Linked DNA regions of Homo sapiens: all the other regions are linked to region 1. Evidence: promoter capture Hi-C in human tissues and cell types (Jung and others, 2019). All regions are on one chromosome and are shown on one strand. The core of a region is centred on a gene start or on the middle of the fragment in contact, and the rest is flanking DNA. Distances in the headings are between cores, read along the strand shown.

The links. Contacts are between HindIII fragments. The study calls those that stand out against the background at their distance.
Region 2: a contact is called between a fragment that was not itself captured here and the fragment with the promoter of ZNF84 in region 1, in 3 of the 25 tissues and cell types used here (dorsolateral prefrontal cortex, hippocampus and spleen).
Region 3: a contact is called between a fragment that was not itself captured here and the fragment with the promoter of ZNF84 in region 1, in 2 of the 25 tissues and cell types used here (IMR-90 fibroblasts and lymphoblastoid cells).
Region 4: a fragment that was not itself captured here is called in contact with the fragment with the promoter of ZNF84 in region 1 in 6 of the 25 tissues and cell types used here (H1 embryonic stem cells, IMR-90 fibroblasts, dorsolateral prefrontal cortex and 3 more).
Region 5: a contact is called between a fragment that was not itself captured here and the fragment with the promoter of ZNF84 in region 1, in 2 of the 25 tissues and cell types used here (dorsolateral prefrontal cortex and thymus).
Region 6: a contact is called between a fragment that was not itself captured here and the fragment with the promoter of ZNF84 in region 1, in 11 of the 25 tissues and cell types used here (H1 embryonic stem cells, adrenal gland, dorsolateral prefrontal cortex and 8 more).

Annotation. Positions count from the first base shown.
Region 1 is chr12:133,036,087-133,039,920 of GRCh38, forward strand. ZNF84 (zinc finger protein 84) reads left to right here and starts at 1,423. Exons shown (of 5, transcript NM_001289971.2): 1 at 1,423-1,459. ZNF84-DT (ZNF84 divergent transcript) reads right to left here and starts at 1,136. Exons shown (of 3, transcript NR_110091.1): 1 at 683-1,136. RefSeq lists an enhancer at 1,040-1,129 and a silencer at 1,350-1,529. The HindIII fragment of the contact is 8,441 bases long and covers 1-3,834 here.
Region 2 is chr12:133,178,822-133,182,405 of GRCh38, forward strand. ZNF268 (zinc finger protein 268) reads left to right here and starts at 2,674. Exons shown (of 6, transcript NM_003415.3): 1 at 2,674-2,865; 2 at 3,125-3,209. The coding sequence starts at 3,177. RefSeq lists enhancers at 2,392-2,916, 2,512-2,821, 2,862-3,061. The HindIII fragment of the contact is 5,070 bases long and covers 1-3,584 here.
Region 3 is chr12:132,878,298-132,881,795 of GRCh38, forward strand. The region is part of intron 2 of CHFR (checkpoint with forkhead and ring finger domains); the gene reads right to left. Among named protein-coding and RNA genes, the nearest start is that of CHFR, 7.6 kb to the right of the region's middle. The HindIII fragment of the contact is 8,676 bases long and covers 1-3,498 here.
Region 4 is chr12:133,255,120-133,258,711 of GRCh38, forward strand. No RefSeq gene overlaps it. Among named protein-coding and RNA genes, the nearest start is that of ANHX, 21 kb to the left of the region's middle. The HindIII fragment of the contact is 4,704 bases long and covers 1-3,592 here.
Region 5 is chr12:132,901,775-132,905,323 of GRCh38, forward strand. No RefSeq gene overlaps it. Among named protein-coding and RNA genes, the nearest start is that of CHFR-DT, 16 kb to the left of the region's middle. RefSeq lists an enhancer at 1-153 and a cis regulatory region at 69. The HindIII fragment of the contact is 3,833 bases long and covers 1-3,549 here.
Region 6 is chr12:133,200,472-133,203,903 of GRCh38, forward strand. It overlaps ZNF268 (zinc finger protein 268), which reads left to right. Exons shown (of 6, transcript NM_003415.3): 6 at 1,673-3,432. Among named protein-coding and RNA genes, the nearest start is that of ZNF268, 21 kb to the left of the region's middle. The HindIII fragment of the contact is 4,114 bases long and covers 7-3,432 here.

The DNA.
Region 1 (3,834 bases), core at 173-2,672:
AGATTTGAACTAAACTCCTGTCACTTTGTTGGTCAACTCGCAATTAAGCTTTTCTTTTCTCAAACGCCTGGTGCCATAGTATTGGCTTCTGTGCACATCGGGCAATGAGGTCTTTTGCGTAGCAGTATTTGGATATCCGGTTTCCTCACGCTATTTATTGAAGCGACTGTCCTTTCCCCATCGTGTATTCTTGACACAAGATTAGTTGACTTGCCTAAGATTAGTTGACTGTATATGCATGGGGTTATTTCTGGTTTTTCTACGCTGTTCCACATTGGTCCATGCGTCTGTTTTTATGCTAGTACTTCACTGGTGAGTTCTACCTCTGGGAATAAATATAAGAATTCTCTAATCACTGGATGTTTGAAGCAATTCACTAAGCAACTCATTATGATGCTTTCTGGCAAAGGATCTCTGAATTTGTCTTCAAATTGTGGATAAAATTGGGTCAAATTTGGCCCATGTTGTCCTGGAGAATCATTTGTGTCACAAATTATCAAATTTATTAGTATAGAGCGGATTTTCATTCAATTTCCTATGTGTCTATGGTTATTTCTCTTTTTTCATCTCTCTCCTCCATCTCCCCGGCCCCATCTTGCTGTCATAAGCATCGTGACTTACCTATAATTCTCCCTACGACTCCAGTTATGGATCAACTTTACTTTTTTCTGTTAATTCTTACCTTCTTTCCATAAATATATTTAAATTTTTTCTGGTTTCCTCAACTGAAGTCAAACCAATTGAGTATTGGTGGGCCGGGCGCGGTGGCTCACGCCTGTAATCCTAGCACTTTGGGAGGCCAAGGCGGGCGGATTGCCTGAGCTCAGGAGTTCGCGACCAGCCTGGGCAACACGGTGACTCCCCGTCTCTACTAAAATACAAAAAAATTAGCCGGGCGTGGCGGCGGGCGCCTGTAGTCCCAGCTACTCGGGAGGCTGAGGCAGAAGAATGGCGTCAACCCGGGAGGCGGAGTTTGCAGTGAGCCGAGATCACGCCACTGCACTCCAGCCTGGGTGACAGAGCGAGACGCCGTCTCAAGAAAATATATATATATATTGGTGGATTCGGTTTCCCTTTATGTTTCTCAGAAAACCGTGTGAGCCCGTTTGGAGTCACTCCGTCTCCAAGCGACAGGCACTTCCGGACGCGGGGCACTGTGGGAAGTTGAGTTCGCGGGGCTCCTTCCTTCGCGCATGCGCACATGCACTCTTGGTAATGCTTGCAGGTGGCCCGTTCTTCCTCTTTGTCCTTCGCTGCCACGTGAGAGGGGAGTGTACGCGTGTGCGCGCGTGCGAGTGTGCGCGTGTGCAGTCCCCGACTCGTCCCGGCCCGTTCGGAGCCGCCCGGGAGCGCACAAAGGCCGACGGTTTGGGCGCGTGCGCGGGACACGGGGGACGGGCGGTGTCACGTGATCGCGAGGCCGCGGGCGCGCGGGCGCGACTCGGCGGCGGCGTCTTTTGTGAGTTCAGTGAGTTTATTGCGGGCCCGGCGCTGGGGGCTCCGGGAATGGCGGGGGAGGCGCGCGGGAGTGGCCGCGGGGAGCTTCGGCTTCAAGGCCCTGGGCGTCCGCGCGCGGATGCGGGTCTGGGGCGGGTTGGGGCTGGGCCGGGTCGTGAAGATGCCGTGGGCCGCGGAGCTGCGCGGATTCTGGGCTGTGGGGCGGGCACGGCCTTTCCGGAGGCGCCGCTCCTGGGCGTCCTTTCAGGCGGGCGTGGAGGCGCCAGCCTCGGGCGCGTTTAGCCTCGGGCGCGTTTAGCCTCGACCTCGGGCCAGCCCGCTTGCCGCGCCGTGGCCCTAAGGAGCGGCTGCCCTGCTGGACCGCATCCACCAGCAGCCTGGCTCTGCCGCTATCGAAGGAGGCTTTTAAAGCGCTGGGGTTACAGGTGTGAGCCACCATTCCTGGCCGTGTATTTTTTAATGGTTATATTTATTGACTGTTTTAAATTTTTTAAGTGACTTTTGCTTTTGGTATGGTGTAGCGAAATCTCCCCTCAAATTATACATATATTCATTCACCTGTGGTTTTTTTTTGTAGACATTCTTAGGGTTTCCATTATTTTAAAATTTAACCCACTGAAAGTAGTTGTATGAAATAGCTACGTTTATTTTCTTTCAAATATTCTTGTATTCATTAAATAATTTAATTTTACTGATGGCTTTGAAATGCTACATTTATTGCATGCTGACTCTTGCATATTTAGACAGTTTGCTTTTTTTCATCTGTATAACTTCTCTGGAGCCAGTGTCAAATGTTATAATGATTATAATTTGTATGTATTACAGTGGGCCTGTTCACACTCATTATTTTGTATTTCCAAAAGCATCCAGGCCCGGTGTGGTAGGGCATGCCTGTAGCCCCAGCTACTCTGTAGGTTGAGGTAGGAGGATCACTTGAGCCCAGGAGTTCAGGGCTGCAGTGAGCTATGGTTATGCCATTGCACTTCAGCCTGGACAACACAGTAAGACCCTGTCAAAAAAAAAAAAAAAGTGTCCGAATTGTTCTTGAACCTTTTTTCTTACACATAAACTTTAGAATTTTGAGATTCTGATTGGAGTCGATGAGTTATATAAATCATTTGAGGTCAAATTATCTTCACAATCTGAAGTCTTCCTATCCCAGAATAAAATCGAATTATAAATTTCTTTAATTCTATTTTTATAGTTCTCATTGGTGTTTTTAGTATGCTTCATATGGGTCTTGATATTCCTACATATTTTATGTATTTTGTCAATTATGAGTCGGATTTTATTTTTTTGTTATTTTATGTGAGTTGTTTATATCTTACAGAAATAAGGTTATTGACCTGGAAAGATGTTCTTCACATAATGGGAAAAAAACAAAAACAGCTTTTAAATATGACCATATGCTTCCATTGTATGAAAAATATCACAATAGTTTCCATCATCCTAAGAATGGTTACCTGTGGTGAGATCATAGATAATAGTTCTTATTTAGCTTGTGTATGTTTTTTATATTTTGCCATCATATATTACTTTTATAATAATAATTATAGCTAGTATATGTTTCGTATGACTGTGTGCCAGCTTTTGTTCTAAGATTTATGTATTATCACAATTTAAGGTATAAAGGAGTCATTTCTTGTATAACTGGGAGAAACTGCTGTGTGTTTCTGAGTTGGCACTGAAGTTTGAACCACAAAAAGGCATGAAAAAGAAAGTGCTGCTTGTTAGTGTGATACAGTTGAGGCAGGGCGTCCTTCATTTATATTTTTGTGGGAATTAGTGACTGAATGTGTGCATGGGAATAGGAGCTGACTCCAGGATTTATGTTGTGTGTGTTTGTGCATGTAGATATGCACAAATGACAATATGACTTTAGTATTCATGCTTTGAACATAGCAGGATAGAGAATTAACATTTGAATTTTGCTACTTACTAAATGTGCAATCACAGGCACATTTTACAATCACTCATTGTCCCAGTTTTCTCTCTGTAAAATGGAGATTATGTTAAACGCCTTATAGGGTTGTGCATGAGTTAAATTTAAAATGCTTAGTATATTGTCTCACATACAGAAAGCACTGGAATGTTAGCTGTAACTGTTATTACAAGGCCCCAGTCGCTTTCCTTTTAACACCTCATTTGTTTCTTAGACTCCCATTGTGAGGTCCACTTTATCTTCACCATTTTAGCAAGTACAGAAATTGAGGCTTTGAAGGCAAGAAAGGAGGGGGGAAAAACAGTAACCACAATAAACATTAAATGTATTCAATTTGTCAGTTAAAAGACACACTGTTGGTTTGGATTTTTTTTTTTTTTTTGAGATGGAGTTTCCCTTTTGTTGCACCAGGCTGGAGTACAATGGCACGGGCT
Region 2 (3,584 bases), core at 661-3,160, 140 kb after region 1:
TTGCAAGCTTTGCATACAAGAGGGGACTAATATCTAGAGTTTACAGGGAACTCAAACAGATCAACAACAACAACGAAACCCAAATAATCCCATTAAGAAGCAGGCAAAGAACACAAATAACACTTTACAAAAGAAGACATACAAATGGCCAACAGGCATATGAAAATATGCTCAACATCATCACTAAACATCAGAGAAATGCAAATTTAAACCACAATGAGGCCGGGCGCTGTGGCTCACGCCTGTAATCCCAGCAGTTTGGGAGGCCGAGGTGAGCAGATCACCTGAGATCAGGAGTTCAAGACCAGTCTGGCTAACATGGCGAAACCACGTCTCTCATAAAAAATACAAAAATTAGCCGGGCATGGTGGTGGGCACCTGTAATCCCAGCTACTTGGGAGGCTGAGGCGGGGAGAATTGCTTGAACCCAGGAGGCGGAGGTTGCAGTGAGCCGAGATCAAGCCACTGCACTCCAGCCTGGGCGACAGAGCGAGGTTGTGGGGGAAAAAAAAGAGATATTATCTTACATCAGTCACAGTAGCTGTTATTAAAAAGACAGGCCGGGCCGGGTGCGGTGGCTCACGCCTGTAATCCCAGCACTTTGGGAGGCCGAGGCGGGCAGATCACGAGATCAGGAGATTAAGACCATCCTGGCTAACACGGCGAAACCCCGTCTCTACTAAAAAATACAAAAAAGTAGCCAGGCGTGGTGGCGGGCCCCTGTAGTCCCAGCTACTTGGGAGGCTGAGGCAGGAGAATGGCGTGAACCCGGGAGGCGGAGCTTGCAGTGAGCCCAGATCGCGCCACTGCACTCCAGCCTGGGCGACAGAGCGAGACTCCGTCTCAAAAGGAAAAAAAAATCAAAACAAACAAAAACAGGCCGAGCTCGGTGGCTCATGCCTGTAATCCCAGCACTTTGGTAAACTGAGGTGACCGGATCACCTAAGGTCGGGAGTTTGCGACCAGCCTGACCAACATGGAGAAACCTGTCTCCACTAAAAATACAAAATTAGCCGGGTGTGGTGGTGCATGCCTGTAATCCCAGCTACTCAGGAGGCTGAGGCAGGAGAATTGCTTGAACCTGGGCGGAGGTTGCGGTGAGCCGAGATCGGGCCACTGCACTCTAGCCTGGGTAACAAGAGCAAAACTCCGTCTCAAAAAATAAAATAAAATAATAAAAATAAAAAGACAAAGAAGATGTTGGTGAGGATGTGGAGAAAAGGAAACTCCTATACACTGTTGGTGAGAAAGTGAAATTAGTATAACCTATGGAAAACAGTGTGGAGAATTCTCAAAGAACTAAAAATAGAATTACCATTTGATAAAGCAATCCTGTTACTGAGTATCTACCCAAAGGAAATCATTATATATATAAAAAAAATACCTGCACTCATATGTTTATCACAGCACTATTCACAATATCACAGGTATGGAATTAACCTAAATGTCCATGAATGGATGAATAAAGAAAATGTGTTATATATACACAATGGAATACTATTCAGCCATAAGAAAGAATGAAATTGTCTTTTGCAGCATCATGGATGGAACTAGTGGCCACTATCTTCAGTGAAACAACTCAGGCACAGAAAGAAAAACACATGTTTTCACTTTAAGTATGAGCTAAAGGATATGTACACATGGATGTAGAGTGTGGGATGATAGACAATGAAGACTCAAAAGGTGTGGGGGGGTTTCAGGGATAATCATAAATTACCTGACTGGTACAATGCATATAACGTACTATAGGGCGTGGATACCTTAAAAGCCTTGACATCACCACTACACAACTGATGCATGTAACAAAATTACACTTGTACCTCATAAATTTATAAAAGTTTTTAAAAGCCAAAAACAAAAGAATTCTAGAAAACTTGTATCTGCCTCTGTGAATGTCACCTCTTCCCAATACTTAAGATCAATAATGATTAGTGGATATTTTCCGTTGGTGCAAAAGTAAGTAATTGCGGCTTTTGCCATTAAAGTAAACCAATATTTTCCAACTGGCCAATACATGATGTTACGAAATCATGCGTGATAAAAGAATCCATTCAAAGTGCAGTGTAGACCAACGGATTTTATGTAATAGAGTAGAAAAAGTTCATCTACGTGGTTTCAGATTGTACACTAACAAAACTATCCCTTGTTCGACTTGTATCTTTATATACTTTAACAAAAACAACATACGCAACAGATTAAACATAGAAGCAGATATGAGAATCCAGCTTTCTAGTAAGTCAGAAAAGACTTAAAAAGCGAAGCCACTCCTTACTAAATTTTTTCTTTTGTAAAATATATGTAATTTTCATTAAAATATTATTTATGTTAACATGTAATGGGAATTTTACGAATCTGTTATTAAAGTGTAAAGCAAAATAAGACTTTTACCATTTCAGTAAAGCAGGGACTAGAACACTTGTAACCTAATTTACATCCCTCCAACCGTTGAGCCATTGGTGTCAAGTATTTTAATTCTCTTTAAAATTTAAAACCTGCAAGCGCGGGAGCTCAGGGACCTGGCCAGGAAGGCCTGAGCTTCCGGGTCATCTTAGCACGCCCCCTCCCGGTGGCCCTTGGCCGGAGCCCTCCGGCGCGGGAGTAACTCCTCGCAGAGGCCTCTGGGAGTTGTAGTTTTTTTGCCTTTGCCTCTCCATGACGCAATTCCTGTGCGACATACGTAGCGGCCGCCATTGTTCCGCGCCGATGGCGAGATCCTTGTTCCTCAGATAGCGTTCATCGCCCGTCGTGGTCAACGGGCCAGCCGAGTCTGGAGTGGTTGCGAACCCTTCTGGCTGCAGATCTGGAGGTGGAGGCAGTACCCTGGACTCTATTCTGCTGCCCCTTCAGGGTTTGGAGGAGCCGGAGGTGCGGAATTCCTCCGGTTTCAAGGCGGCGGGACGGGACAGAACTAATCTGCCTTAGCTCTCTCCTGCTGCTGACCCGGGGCGGTTGCCTGACCCTAACCTGTGTGTTGGTGAGGGTGTGGAGATGGTGAATCCCGTGCTGTGGGAGGGAAGGAGCCTCAGCTCCGAGAATGGCAGGCAGCCCTGGTGCCTCGGACCCTCCCCCTCTGGGTTTGGGGACTGCTGGGTGACCTCTTTCTTCACTGTGCTCTCTCTTCTAGCATCCCTCGCGTCCTGTCACTTCCAGCGAGGCACACAAAACTGACCGTAGGGATGGCCACCAGGGTCCGGACAGCTTCTATTTGGGTGAGTAGGGGTTTTCTTTCATTCTTGAAAAGCTCTCCCTGAATGCCAACGTGTGCGCACTCCATCTACTCCAGTCTGAATTTGCCAGGAGCTTTCTCACCCCACCGCTCTTTTAGGCAACTGGATCGTCATTTATAGCATGTTAGACTTTCCAGAAATGCTTCTTGTCATCCGACTTCCTTTTTTCCTCCTTTCATCAATCTCTTTTCTAACAACTTTGTACGCTGAACTTTGGAGTTAAACAAGGGATACTCACACATCTTTCAGTTTTTTCAGCCTTTATTTACTGAGGGCCTTCTGTATCTGGGATCTTTAAACCTTATTTTGGAAATTACAAACTTTTTTATTCACTTGTTCAACATTTTTTTTTATTGT
Region 3 (3,498 bases), core at 46-2,545, 160 kb before region 1:
ATATCTACTAAAAATACAAAAATTAGCTGGGCATGGTGGCGGTTGCCTATAATCCCAGCTACTTGGGAGGCTGAGGCAGGAGAATCGCATGAACCCAGGAGGCAGAGGTTGCAGTGAGCTGAGATCGCGCCACTGCACTCCAGCCTTGGCGACAGAGCTAGACTCCAACTGGAAATAAAAAAAAAAAAAAGCAATTTTACAATATGCTTGCATACACAGCTAACCTGATGAGTATTATTAGAACTTTAAAAAAACTCAGGGGGTTGGCTAGGTCCGGTGGCTCACACCGAGGCGGGCAGATCACAAGGTCAGGAGATCGAGACCATCCTGGCTAACACAGTGAAACCCCATCTCTACTAAAAATACAAAAAATTAGCCGGGCGTGGTGGCGGGCGCCTTGTAATCCCAGCTACTCAGGAGGATGAGGCAGGAGAATGGCGAGAACCCGGGAGGAGGAGCTTGCAGTGAGCCGATATGGCGCCACTGCACTCCAGCCTGGGTGACAGAGCAAGACTCTGTCTCAAAAAAAAAAAAAGAAAAAAAAAAACTCAGGGGCTTAAGTAATTCTTCAGTATCTTAATTTAGTCCTTAATTTCTTTTCTGTGTAAACTTAGGTTTCATAAATCAACATAAAATTGAAGCAATGACAGTCACAGAAAAAGTGACTGAGCCAACTGTGATAGGCATTTGTTTTTTTTTTTGTTTTTGTTTGTTTTTTTTTTTTTGAGATGGAGTCTCGCACTGTCGCCCAGGCTGGAGTGCAGTGGCACCATCTCGGCTCACCACAACCTCCACCTCCCAGGTTCAAGCCATTCTCCTGCCTCAGCCTCCTGAGCAGCTGGGACTACAGGCATGCGCCACCATACCCAGCTAATTTTTTGTATTTTTAGTAGAGACGGGGTTTCACCATGCTGGTCTTGAACTCCTGACCTCTTGATCCACCCGCCTCAGCCTCCCAAAGTGTTGGGATTACAGGCTTGAGCCACCGCACCTGGCCTGCGATAGGCATTTGTACACGTATAAGAAACTGCATCTTATATACAGGGATGCATCTATAGCTGAATACAGTAATTCTGACACTTTGGGATTTTTTTTTTCTTTTTTTTTTTTTGAGACGGAGTCTCTTTCTGTGGCCCAGGCTGGAGTGCAGTGGCACGATCTCAGCTCACTGCAACCTCTGCCTCCCGGGTTCAAGCGATTCTCCTGCCTCAGCCTCCTGAGTAGCTGGGATTACAGGCGCACACCACCAGGGCCAGTTAATTTTTGTATTTTTAGTAGAGATGAGGTTTCACAATGTTGGCCAGGATGGTCTCGATCTCTTGACCTCGTGATATGCCCGCCTCGGCTTCTCAAAGTGCTGGGATTACAGGCGTGAGCCACCAGCGCCCGGCCCTGAATACAAAAGCAAGAGGGAAAATCCTCAATACTTGCCCTCTCCTTAAATCAAAAGAACAAAGGCGTTTTAATATCTCATCATTAATCATTACTGCCTATAATAATCTATAAGGATACATAAAGATACTAGAAGACAAAAAAGCGAAGGGTTTGGTCAGGAGACAGTGGCATGCAAACATACTTTTCCTAAACGTTCCACACAGAAAGACACCCTGAATCTGCTTTAGCCTGAGCCTTGCTCCCATCACTGACCTATGGGTGTGTGAATCAGAAGACTCAGTATTGTTAAAATGTCAGCTGTCCTCCAGATTGTTTCATACATTCAATGCAATTCCAGTCAAAATCCCAGAGGGCTTGTAGACACTGACAAGCTGATTCTAAAGTTCACAGAAAAAACGTGTAGAAAAACCAAAGCAATTTTGAAAAAGAATGAAGCTGGAAGACTCATATTACTTAACTGACTTACCATCATGCTATAGTAAACAATACAGTATTGTGGCTGTGTAAGGATGGCCAGACAGAGACAAATGTAAAATCTAAAACTATGAAACTTCCAGTGGAAAAGACAGGCAAAAATCTTAGTGCCGTTGGGTCTTGCATGGACTTCGCAGATAGGATATAAAAAGCACAAACCAGGAAAAAATAATAATAATAAGCTGAGGTTTGTCAAAAGTAAAATGTGGGCCAGGTGCCGTGGCTCACACCTGTAATCCCAGCACTTTGGGAGGCCAAGGGGGGGGCGGATCACAAGGTCAGGAGATCGAGACCATCCTGGCTAACATGGTGAAACCACGTCTCTACCAAAACTACAAAAAATTAGCTGGGCGTGATGGCGGGCGCCTGTAGTCCCAGCTACTCAGGAGGCTGAGGCAGAAGAATGGCGTGAACCCAGGAGGTGGAGCTTGCAGTGAGCCAAGATGGTGCCACTGCACTCCAGCCTGGGCAACAGAGCAAGACTCCGACTCAAAAAAAGAAAAAAAAAGTCAATTCTGGGCCAGGCGTGGTGGCTCACACCTGTAATCTCAGCACGTTGGGAGGCCGAGGCGGGCGGATCACAAGGTCAGGAGTTCAAGACCAGCCTGACCAACATGGTGAAACCCAGTCTCTACTAAAAATACAAAACTTAGCCAGGCATGGTGGCGGGCGCCTATAATCCCAGCTACACGGGAGGCTAAGGCAGGAGAATGGTGGGAACCCAGGAAGCGGAGGTTACAGTGAGCCGAGATCACGCCACTGCACTCCAGCCTGGGCGACAGAGCGAGACTCTGGCTCAACAACAACAAAAAAAGTAAGGCTGGGGGCGGTGGTTCACGCCTATAATCCCATCACTTTGGGTGGCCAAGGCGGGCGGATCACTTCAGACCAGGACTTCGAGACCAGCCTGGCCAACAGGATGAGACCCCATCTCGACTAAAAATACAAAAAATTAGCCGGGCATGGTAGCATGCACCTGTAATCCCAGCTACTTGAGAGGCTGAGGTGGGAGAACATGGGAGGTGGAGGTTGCAGTGAGCTGAGATCGTGCCACTGCACTCCAGCCTGGCAACAGAGCGAGACTCCATCTCAAAAAAAAAAAAAAGTAAAAATCTGTTCTTCAAAGATATTGTTTAAAAAGATGAAAAGACAAGCTATGGACTGGTGGAAATATTTGTAAAACACATATCTGACAAAGATCTTGTATCCAGAATGTATAGAGAACTCTGATAACTCAATAAATAGAAAGTAAATAATGCAACTTAAAACAATTTAAACACTTTATCAAAGAAGAGATATGGATGGCAAATTAAGCACATGACAAAATGCTCAACATCATTAATCTTCAGAGAAATGCAAATTAAAACCATGAAATACCACTACACACCAAATAAGAATTGGCTGAAAATACTGACCACGGGCCGGGCACGGTGGCTCACGCCTGTAATCCCAGCACTTTGGGAGGCCGAGGCGGGCGGATCACATGGTCAAGAGATTGAGACCATCCTGGCCAACATGGTGAAACCCCGTCTCTACTAAAGATACAAAAAAATTAGCCGGGCATGGTGGCACGTGCCTGTAGTCCCAGCTACTCAGGAGGCTGAGGCAAGAGAATGGCTTGAACCCGGG
Region 4 (3,592 bases), core at 937-3,436, 220 kb after region 1:
AGTGAAATGATCTAATAATAATAATAAAAATTGGACTTAATGATTTTGCATCATTCCCACTGACTTTAATCAGACTTCCAAATTATTTTGTGTTATGGAAAATTTCAAACTTGGCATTTGAGAATCAATCTAAAGTTTTTTGTTTTTTGAAAAGTGTGATTTTCTCTAATTTGGTGTTGACTTACATCAGGATTTAGTAAACAGGCCTAAACAAGTTATTCCACAGGGAAAGGTAAAGTGAATCAAAGAGGACATTTAATTGAGTAGTCACCTTGAATCTCAGTGGGTGGGGCTGGTGATATCTGAAAGCTACAGCACTTCATGATCACTCAACAAATCATGTTGGCTGATTTATGCTGTGGAATAGTCAGTGGTCTTCAAATGAGAATGCATGTTGTTGGGGATATGGGAAGACCTTCCAGGGACATGAATAGTTTTAAGGGAGTCATTTTCTAGACTCTCAACTTTCACATGTGTTCATTGGTTAGAGGGAACTGCCTTCAGATGCACTTGGGATGGAGGTGCAGCCTCTGCACACTAACGGCAAATTGAAAATACAAATATTGATCCAGGGAAGTGACTGAGATGACTGAGTGACAAATCCCATGCTGATCAGATAGTTTCCAAGCCTTTTCTTTCAACAAAAGTAATGAGGGTCATTTAGGTATTAGCTCACTGTATTAGTCCATTCTTCCATTGCTATAAAGAACTATCTGAGACTGGGTAATTTATAAAGAAAAAAGGTTTAATTGGTTCATGGTTCACAGGCTGTGCAGGAAGTATGGCTGAGGAGGTCTCAGGAAACTTACAATCATGGTGGAAGGCAAAGAGGAAGGAGACATTCTATGTGGCTGGAGCAGGAGGAAGAGAGAGCAAAGGGGGAAGTGCTACACACTTTTAAATAAGCAGTTCTCATGAGAGCACACTCATGATCACAAGAACAGCAAGGTGGAAGTCTGCCTCTATGATCCAGTCACTTCCCACCAGGTCCCTCTTCCAACACTGAGGACCACAATTTGGCATGAGATTTGGGTGGGGACACAGATCCAATCCGCAGTGTGAATTGCTCAGTGTGAAAGTTACAGTGGAACATTTCAAATGAACAACACTGCATTTGAAGAAGTGCACTTGAAAATGAGGGCTCCTGAATTAGTCTCATCTAGGGATACCTATTGATATGCAGAAGCTTCTAAAAAGATTTCAGTATTTTTATTTAAAGACTCTTTATAAAAAGCAAATAAAAAGCTCAAGTGACTAATTGATAAGAAACATTAAATTTGCTAACCTTTTGGCTTGGTCATCATCCTACCTCGAAGGTGAAAAGAAAGTTATCCTAGATAGAGTGTTTTTAAAAGGTAAGCTCTCAGGTAAAGTAGGTTCTTGCTTCTCTTTCAGATCTCTCCATGCTGAGTCCAGGCATAGAAAGTGCTTTCTTTGCCCTATTCTTTAAGGGCCTCCATCATAAACTCAGTAATTTCAGCTAAGAAACAGTAGCAAAGTTAAAAAAGACCACCTGTCAAACTAAAGTACACCTTTCTGGAATTTAGCTGGCTACCTTTAAATCCTTTTGTGAAATAATTTCACAGTTATAAAGGAAATCTCCATTTTTATGGTGTCTGTGTATGTATATTAGAAACTCTTACCATTTTTTTAAATTCACACAACAAATCATACCTTTGTTTAAAGTTCTTTTCTGGCCATCTTGTCTTAAGTGAACTTTTACTTACACCTTTTTTCCTTTGTTTGACCAAATAATACATTATTTAGGCCTAAAGGCTTAGCTCTGTGCTTATAAAATATAATTTTTTGTTTAAAAAATTAAAAAATTATAAAATTATAAAATTTGTTTAAAAAATTATAATTTTTTGTTTAAAAAATTATAATTTTTTGTTTAAAAAATTATAATTTTTTGTTTAAAAAATTATTATATTTTGTTTAAAAAATTATAAAATATAATTTTTTGCTGGGCAGGGCGCCATGGGTCTATAGTCCCAGTTACTTGGTGAACTGAGGTGGAAGGATTGCTTGAGCCTGGGGAGGTTGAGGCTGCAGGGAGCTGTAAACACAATACTGCACTCCAGCCTGGATGACAGAGTGAGACCCTGTCTCAAAAACACAAAACAAAACAAAAACAAAAACACGACATGCTTTTGATGGGGAAAGTTATGAAGGCATAAAAATGTGTGTTTGCTAAAAAAACTTGTCTAGTTTGAAGTTACTTAAAGGTTTCAAATTGAAGGAGTAAAAAAAGATAAAACTAGATAAATATAGAAAGTTAGGGAAAAGTATAAAACACAAAAGGTTTATAGAGTTTATAGAAATCTTATGTGTTCAAAAGATGACAGACTTGATTTATTTATAAGATTTTATTAAATATTAGCTTTATATGTATAGTGCACTAATACAAAAATAAAATTAGTTTTTCTCTTCTGAACAAAAATTTCATGTAGTGTTAATAAGACAAAGTAAAATATTTTTGTTCACCTTTTGAGTAAACTGCAAAGAGAAAGACAGAGATAAGAGAAAAGAGAAGAGACAGAATTTGTCTCATGCTGTCTGAGATCTTTTGATTGGAAAACTGAGTCTCCTCTCTCAAAGAGTACAGGTTTTTGTTTAAAAAATCCTTTAATTATCACTTTGGCTAAAAGAATGACTATTATTTTATGGTGACCTGTGATCTTATTTTGGTAAAGTGTTTTAAACCTTTGACATATTTGATTGGCTTTCTAAAAATCAAATTTCAACTTCAAAGTTAAGTCTTTTTTCACCTTTTAACTTTGGGATGCTACAAAGGTCCCCTGAAGCATCCAAAAGGGAGATAAACGGATTATTTGACATGTGAAATTACATGGGAAGCATTATCAAACAAGAAAGGATGGCTTAACCTTCTTAAGTTATATCTTAAAGAATATGTTATTAATATATGTTCCAAAGTTATGTGGGATTTCTAAAATCCTAATATGTCTGGGTATATGCTATCAGTCATAATTCTGGTTATTATGTTGAGTTATTGTAAACCACAGAAATAACCAAATTTCCTTTTCAATTGTCTTTATGACCATTTAAATTCATTTCCACAGTTAATTGCTTAATTCTGATGCAGTTTCTTAAAACTTCACAAGCACATAAAATCCTAGAATATGGTGTCTTTAAGGAGATTCATGAAAGGATGGAAAGAACCCTGACACAAGCTCTCAAACACAAGTTTCTAATAACTTTAGGACCACATCGTTTGGATTGGGTAAAAATTCCTGGAACTCTAATGAAGAGACTGGCTGGTTTATAAAACTACTAAGCCAGGCAGGAAAAAAACTAATTGAATACCAAGAAAATATTTTGCCAGATGTTCATGCTAAATCAGCTAGTACTTAAATTGTTAAGATATGCAATTTAAATGAACTCCATGGTCAAAGTCAAATTACCCATGATAATCTATTGGTTATCAGTGCTATGCACCTAAATTGGAGAAACAATCAGTATTTAAGAGGATATAAGTCCAATGTTAAGTGTGGGCTCCTGGAGAGCAGCTGCCTCATCTTCCTGAGTCCTTAAAGCTTTTGTTATTAAAATCTCTGCATTCCATGACTCATTA
Region 5 (3,549 bases), core at 508-3,007, 130 kb before region 1:
TTACTGAGGAATTTGCTTCTATTAAAACCAGAAAAGTAAAATTACCTTTTACATTTTCTTTTTTTTTTTTTTTGAGACAGAGTTTCGCTACTGTTGCCCAGGCTGGAGTGCAGTGGCGCAATCTCGGCTCACCACAACCTCCACCTCCCTGGTTCAAGCGATTCTCCTGCCTTAGCATCCCCAGTAGCTCGGATTACAGGCATGTGCCACCACACCCAGTTAATTTTATATTTTTAGTAGAGACAGGGTTTCTCCATGTTGGCCAGGCTGGGCTCGAACTCCTGACCTCAGGTGATCTGCCTGCCTTGGCCTCCCAAACTGCTGGGATTACAGGCATGAGCCACCGTGCCCAGCCCTTTTTTTTTTTTTTTTGAGATGGAGTCTTGCTCTGTTGCCCAGGCTGGAGTGCAGTGGCATGATCTCGGCTCACTGCAACCTCTTCCGCTTCCCAGTTTCAAGCAACTCTCCTGTCTCAGCCTCCTGAGTAGCTGGGATTACAGGCATGCACCACCACACCCGGCTAATTTTTGTATTCTGGTCTCGAACTCCTGACCTTAGGTGATCTGCCTGCCTCAGCTTCCCAGAGTGCTAGGATTTTCCTTTTTTTTTTTTTTTTTTTTTTGTAAGTGAAAGCAAGTTTATTAGAGATGTAAAGAAACAAAAGAATAGCTACTCCACAGGCAGAGCAGCCTATATTTTCCTTTTGATATGAACTTTTTTTTTTTTTTTGAGATGGAGTCTCATTCTATTGCCCAGGCTGGAGTGCAGTGGCGGGATCTGGGATCACTGCAACCTCTGCCTCCCGGGTTCAAGCGATTCTCCTGCCTCAGCCTCCCTAGTAGCTGGGACTACTGGCATGCACCACCATACCCAGCTGCTTTTTTTTGTATTTTTAGTAGAGACAGGGTTTCACCATGTTGGCCAGGCTGGTCTTGAACTCCTGACCTCAGGTGATCTGCCTGCCTTGGCCTCCCAAAGTGCTGGGATTACTGGTGTGAGCCACTGTGCCCAGCCGCTATGAACTATTTTAAGTGGAAATAATGATTTTTATTCTATTTTATTATTTTTTATTTTGAGACAGAGTCTTGCTCTGTTGCCCAGGCTGGAGTGCAATGGCGCAATCTCGGCTGACTGCAACCTCTGCCTTCTGGGTTTAAGCAATTCTCCTGCCTCAGCCTCCCGAGTAGCTGGGACTACAGGCGCGTGCCACCACGCCCGGCTAATTTTTGTATTTTTAGTAGGGACGGGGTTTCACCGTGTTAGCCAGGATGGTCTCGATCTAATGACCGTGTGATCTGCCCACCTCAGCCTCCCAAAATGCTGGGATTACAGGCATGAGCCACTGCACCTGGCCTAATGTTTTGAGTTTTAATACATGTACTTTGCAAAACTTTCTTCTTTACAACTACTTTAACCCTGTAGGGAAAATAAGACAGGAAGAAATGAATAAAGCACATCCACAGGAGTGCTCATTTTCCTTCTCCCAGACTCCCCAAGCTGTAGGCACGAACACTGTTCTCTGCAAGTCTCACCTGGGCCACGCACTTCTCTGGACTTGCATGGATTTCCTCCCAGAACAATCCTGATTAAGGAAACACCAGGTGCTCTCTGTTTCCCGCTGCCAACCCCTCTGTGAAGGGAAATGCCTAAAACAGATCTCACTCCGAGATCTTTACTTTCCAGAGAAAGTAAAGAATAACGCATGGGAACATTCCAGAACATGAGGGAATCTCTGCTTATGAATTTAAGGAAAGTGTCTCTGGTGGACGTGGAGAAAAGGGAACCCTCATACACGGTTGGAAGGAATGTAAATTAGTACAACCACTACCGAGAACTGTTTGGAGGTACCTCAGAAAACTAAAAATTGAGCTACCACAAGCTCCAGCAATCCCTGATGGCTAGATACCGGAAAGGGAATCAGCATGTCTAAGAGATGTCTGCACTGCCATGTTTGCTGCAGCACTGTTCACAACAGCCAAGATTTGGAAGCAACCTAAATGTCCATCAACAGATGAATGGATAAGAAAATGCGGCGCCTGTAATCCCAGTACTTTGGGAGGCCCAGGCGGGCGGATCATGAGGTCAGGAGATCGAGACCATCCTGGCTGACACGGTGAAACCCCCGTCTCTACTAAAAATACAAAAAATTAGCCGGGCGTGGTGGCGGGCGCCTGCAGTCCCAGCTACTGGAGAGGCTGAGACAGGAGAATGGCGTGAACCCGGGAGGTGGAGGTTGCAATGAGCTGAGATCGCGCCACTGCACTCCAGCCTGGGCAACAGAGCGAGACTCCGTCTCAAAAAAAAAAAAAAAAAAAGAAAGAAAGAAAGAAAATGCGGCGCATGGCGGGGCACAGCGGCTCATGCCTGTAATCTCAGCACTTTGGGAGGCCGAGGCGGATGGATCACAAGGTCAGGAGTTCAAGACCAGCCTGGCCAAGATGGTGAAACCCCATCTCTACTACAAATACAAAAATTAGCTGGGCGTGGTGGCGGGAGCCTGTAATCCCAGCTACCCTGGAGGCTGAGGCAGGAGAATCGCTTGAACCCGGGAGGCGGCGGTTGCAGTGAGCCGAAACCACCTCCAGCCTGGGCGACAGAAACAGACTCTGTCTCAGAGAAAAAAAAAAAAAAAGCGAAAAAACGTTATTTATTTATTTATTTATTTAGAGACGGAGTCTTGCTCAAGTTGCCCAGGCTGGAGTGCAATGGCACGATCTCGGCTCACTGCAACCTCGGCCACCCAGGTTCAAGCAATTCCCCTGCCTCAGCCTCCTGAGTAGCTGGGATTACAGGCGCGCGGCACCACGCCCGGCTAATTTTTGTATTTTTAGTAGAGACTGGATTTCACCTTGTTGGCCAGGCTGGTCTGGATATCCTGACCTCATGATCTACCCGCCTCGGCCTCCCAAAGTGCTGGGATTACAGGCGAGAGCCACCGCGCCCGGCCTATAAAAACATTTTTAAAAAAGGACAATGACTCTAGAGATTCCCCGGCAGAGTTCCTCTGGGAAGCTTTTCCTCACCGAAGACGCGGCCTCAAGTCATCCCCAAGCCGGGGCTCCTGGGTGGCTTCTCAGGAAGCCAAGCTCCCTCACCCTGTGGCGACGCCGCGGGCGGAATGCGCATGCGCGCCACGAGCCACAATCGTAGGGTTGGGCGCGCCCTGCCGGCCACCAGGGGCAGCGCAGGAGCTGAGCGCACCCCATCAGCGAAAGAAGCGCGCCTCCCCGCTCTTTTCTGAACCGTATCTCCTAAACTATAATTTTGGAGATCAAAAGTGCGGTGGAGCCTCCTCTTCTGTGGCTTGATAGGAGTGGGGGAGGTAACAAGAAGCAAAAGTACAAAGCCAATATATTAAAGTCAACTGAAACTGGAAAACTTTAAAGGCCTACCGTTTGCAATAAAACAACAAAAAGAAATCCTTGGATACAACAAATCCAAGAAATCCTTGCTCTAACAAAATATGAAACCATCTGTATCCAGAAAACTATGAAACACTATTAAAAGAAAACGTAGGCCGGCGCAGTGGCTCACACCTGTAATCCCAGC
Region 6 (3,432 bases), core at 814-3,313, 170 kb after region 1:
TGTGATGTGGTGCTGAAAAGAATGTATATTTTGTTGATTTGGGGTGGAGAGTTCTGTAGATGTCTATTAGCTCTGCTTTCTTTTAATATCCTTTTCTTTCATTACCCTGGTTAGTATGTTGTTTTGGGGCATCTATCTATTTTCTACTCAACCTCCAGATATTTCCTGTTGTGACAAAGGACTTGATCCTTAGTCTTATTTCCTATCTATTTTCTATCTTTCCCTTTTTGTTTTTGTGTTCACAAAGCTGTTTGCCTACCCTGTGCCGATTCTTTTCCATGCCTGCTAGAGGAAACATCTTCAGTCTCTTTTTAACTCTTGTGGTAGTTACCTCCATATTTCTAAATAACCAGCTTATTCTGCTAGACCTTGGCTTTCTCCCCTAATGATTGCTCAGTATAGAAAGGTAATTTACTTCTCTTTCACTCTCCTCCCTCCATACCTTCCCACCATATACACACTCATGATGGAGACATGTCTCTTCTCATGTTCCCATGCCTCCATCATTCTGATACAGTTATTTCATATTTTTGGTTAAATCTGTCTTTAGTTTTTATGTTGGTATGACTGTAATTCCTGTTTATAGGGAAATCATGCAAGTATACAGTGATTTATTTTTGTTTCTAAATTTGTATTTTTTCTGTAGTTAATTTTTTGCTAATTTAATTTTGTTACCATTAATGTTTTCATCATGTATTCAATTCCAGACTCTCCTTTCAGTATCTGAATATTCTTGGCTGATACTTTCAGCCAAATTATTAATTGTATTCCTTTTTTCTTCCTAGTGATATTGACTGCTAAGTTTTTCTGACTTGCTTCAGAGTAGCTTAGTTTTTTTAAGGCCTGCTGTGCAATTTTTATCCTGGGATCTCCTCTTTGATTTTATTTTCTATATCCTCTGTCATTTCTTTTCTTGGAGCAACTCAAGAGTAGCTTCCTGGAAAAGGGTGATACAAACATTGAGACCTGTGCATCTGAAAATGTTTTGACTTTATTCCTCATTGCTCTATTTTCTGTCCTCTAGTTTTCCTAAAGAGAAGTCTGATGGCATTCTAATTTTTGTTACATTGTAGAAAGCTTTGTTTTTGTTTCAGTTTTGATTTCTCTGGATGGTTTTAAGAACTGCTTCTTGTCCTGTTAAGGAATGATGTTCCCTCTCAGTTTATTTTTATCCATTTACTAGGTATTGAGATGTTATTCCCAGGAGGACTGGGAAGTAATCTGCATTGTTCTCTGCCATTTCTCTAGAAGTTAGCATAGTGTTTGGCACATAGTAGGTATTTAATTATTTTTTGAATAAATCTAATGTTCATAGATCCCTAATGACATGTTTATATTATCTTCATTGTTCCTTTTGCCTATTTTGCCTTCTTTATCCAATATGCAAAACTTTTAAACTTCTTATCAGTTTACTATGCCTATCTTCAGTTTGGTTTTTCTTTTTCTCAGTACCCAGTAGTTTGAGTGTTTTTATACCTGAGAATTTATTTATATTCAGATCTGATATCTGAAACTAAAAACCTCATGATATGGCATTTCACAGGGAACTTTCTAGTATACCACAATCATGTGATTTATAACATGTGACTAATTGTTCTTATTTCATAGGCAACTTTCTAGTATACCGCAATCATGTGATTTATAACATGTGACCAATTGTTCTCATTTCTAGACACAGTCTGGAAAATTGATGATCTTATGGATTGGCATCAGGAAAATAAAGACAAGCTGGGAAGTACGGCAAAAAGCTTTGAATGCACTACATTTGGAAAACTATGTCTTCTTAGTACAAAGTATCTTTCAAGACAAAAACCTCATAAATGTGGCACGCATGGAAAGAGTTTGAAATATATAGATTTCACTAGTGATTATGCTAGAAATAATCCTAATGGGTTTCAGGTACATGGAAAATCATTCTTCCATTCTAAACATGAGCAAACTGTTATTGGAATAAAATACTGTGAAAGTATTGAATCTGGAAAAACCGTCAATAAGAAATCGCAACTTATGTGCCAACAAATGTATATGGGCGAAAAACCCTTTGGATGCAGCTGTTGTGAGAAAGCCTTCAGCAGCAAGTCATACCTTCTAGTGCATCAGCAAACTCATGCCGAAGAGAAACCCTATGGTTGTAATGAATGTGGGAAAGACTTCAGTAGTAAATCATACCTCATTGTACATCAGAGAATTCATACAGGAGAGAAACTACATGAATGCAGTGAATGCAGGAAAACATTCAGTTTCCATTCACAGCTTGTTATACATCAGAGAATTCACACAGGTGAGAATCCCTATGAGTGCTGTGAATGTGGGAAAGTCTTCAGTAGGAAAGACCAGCTTGTTTCACACCAGAAAACTCATTCAGGACAGAAACCATATGTGTGTAATGAATGTGGGAAAGCTTTTGGTTTAAAATCACAGCTCATTATACATGAAAGAATTCATACAGGAGAGAAACCATATGAATGCAATGAATGTCAGAAAGCCTTTAATACAAAGTCAAACCTTATGGTACATCAGAGAACCCATACAGGGGAGAAACCTTATGTTTGTAGTGATTGTGGAAAAGCCTTTACATTCAAGTCACAGCTCATTGTACATCAGGGGATTCACACAGGAGTAAAGCCCTATGGGTGTATTCAGTGTGGTAAAGGATTCAGTTTGAAATCACAGCTCATTGTACATCAGAGAAGTCACACAGGAATGAAACCTTATGTATGCAATGAATGTGGCAAAGCCTTCAGGAGCAAGTCATACCTTATTATACATACAAGGACTCATACAGGAGAAAAACTCCATGAATGCAACAATTGTGGGAAAGCCTTCAGTTTTAAATCACAGCTCATTATACATCAGAGGATTCATACAGGAGAGAACCCCTATGAATGCCATGAATGTGGGAAAGCCTTCAGTCGGAAATACCAGCTTATTTCACACCAGAGAACTCATGCAGGAGAGAAGCCTTATGAATGCACCGACTGTGGAAAGGCTTTTGGTTTAAAGTCACAGCTTATTATACACCAGAGAACTCATACAGGGGAGAAACCATTTGAATGTAGTGAGTGTCAGAAAGCCTTTAATACAAAGTCAAACCTGATTGTACATCAGAGAACTCATACAGGAGAGAAACCCTATAGTTGTAATGAATGTGGAAAAGCCTTTACGTTCAAATCACAGCTCATTGTACATAAAGGAGTGCACACTGGAGTAAAACCCTATGGATGCAGTCAATGTGCAAAAACCTTTAGTTTGAAGTCCCAGCTCATTGTACATCAGAGAAGTCACACAGGAGTAAAACCATATGGATGCAGTGAGTGTGGGAAAGCCTTCAGGAGCAAGTCATACCTTATTATACATATGAGAACTCATACAGGAGAGAAACCACATGAGTGCAGGGAATGCGGGAAATCCTTTAGTTTCAATTCACAACTC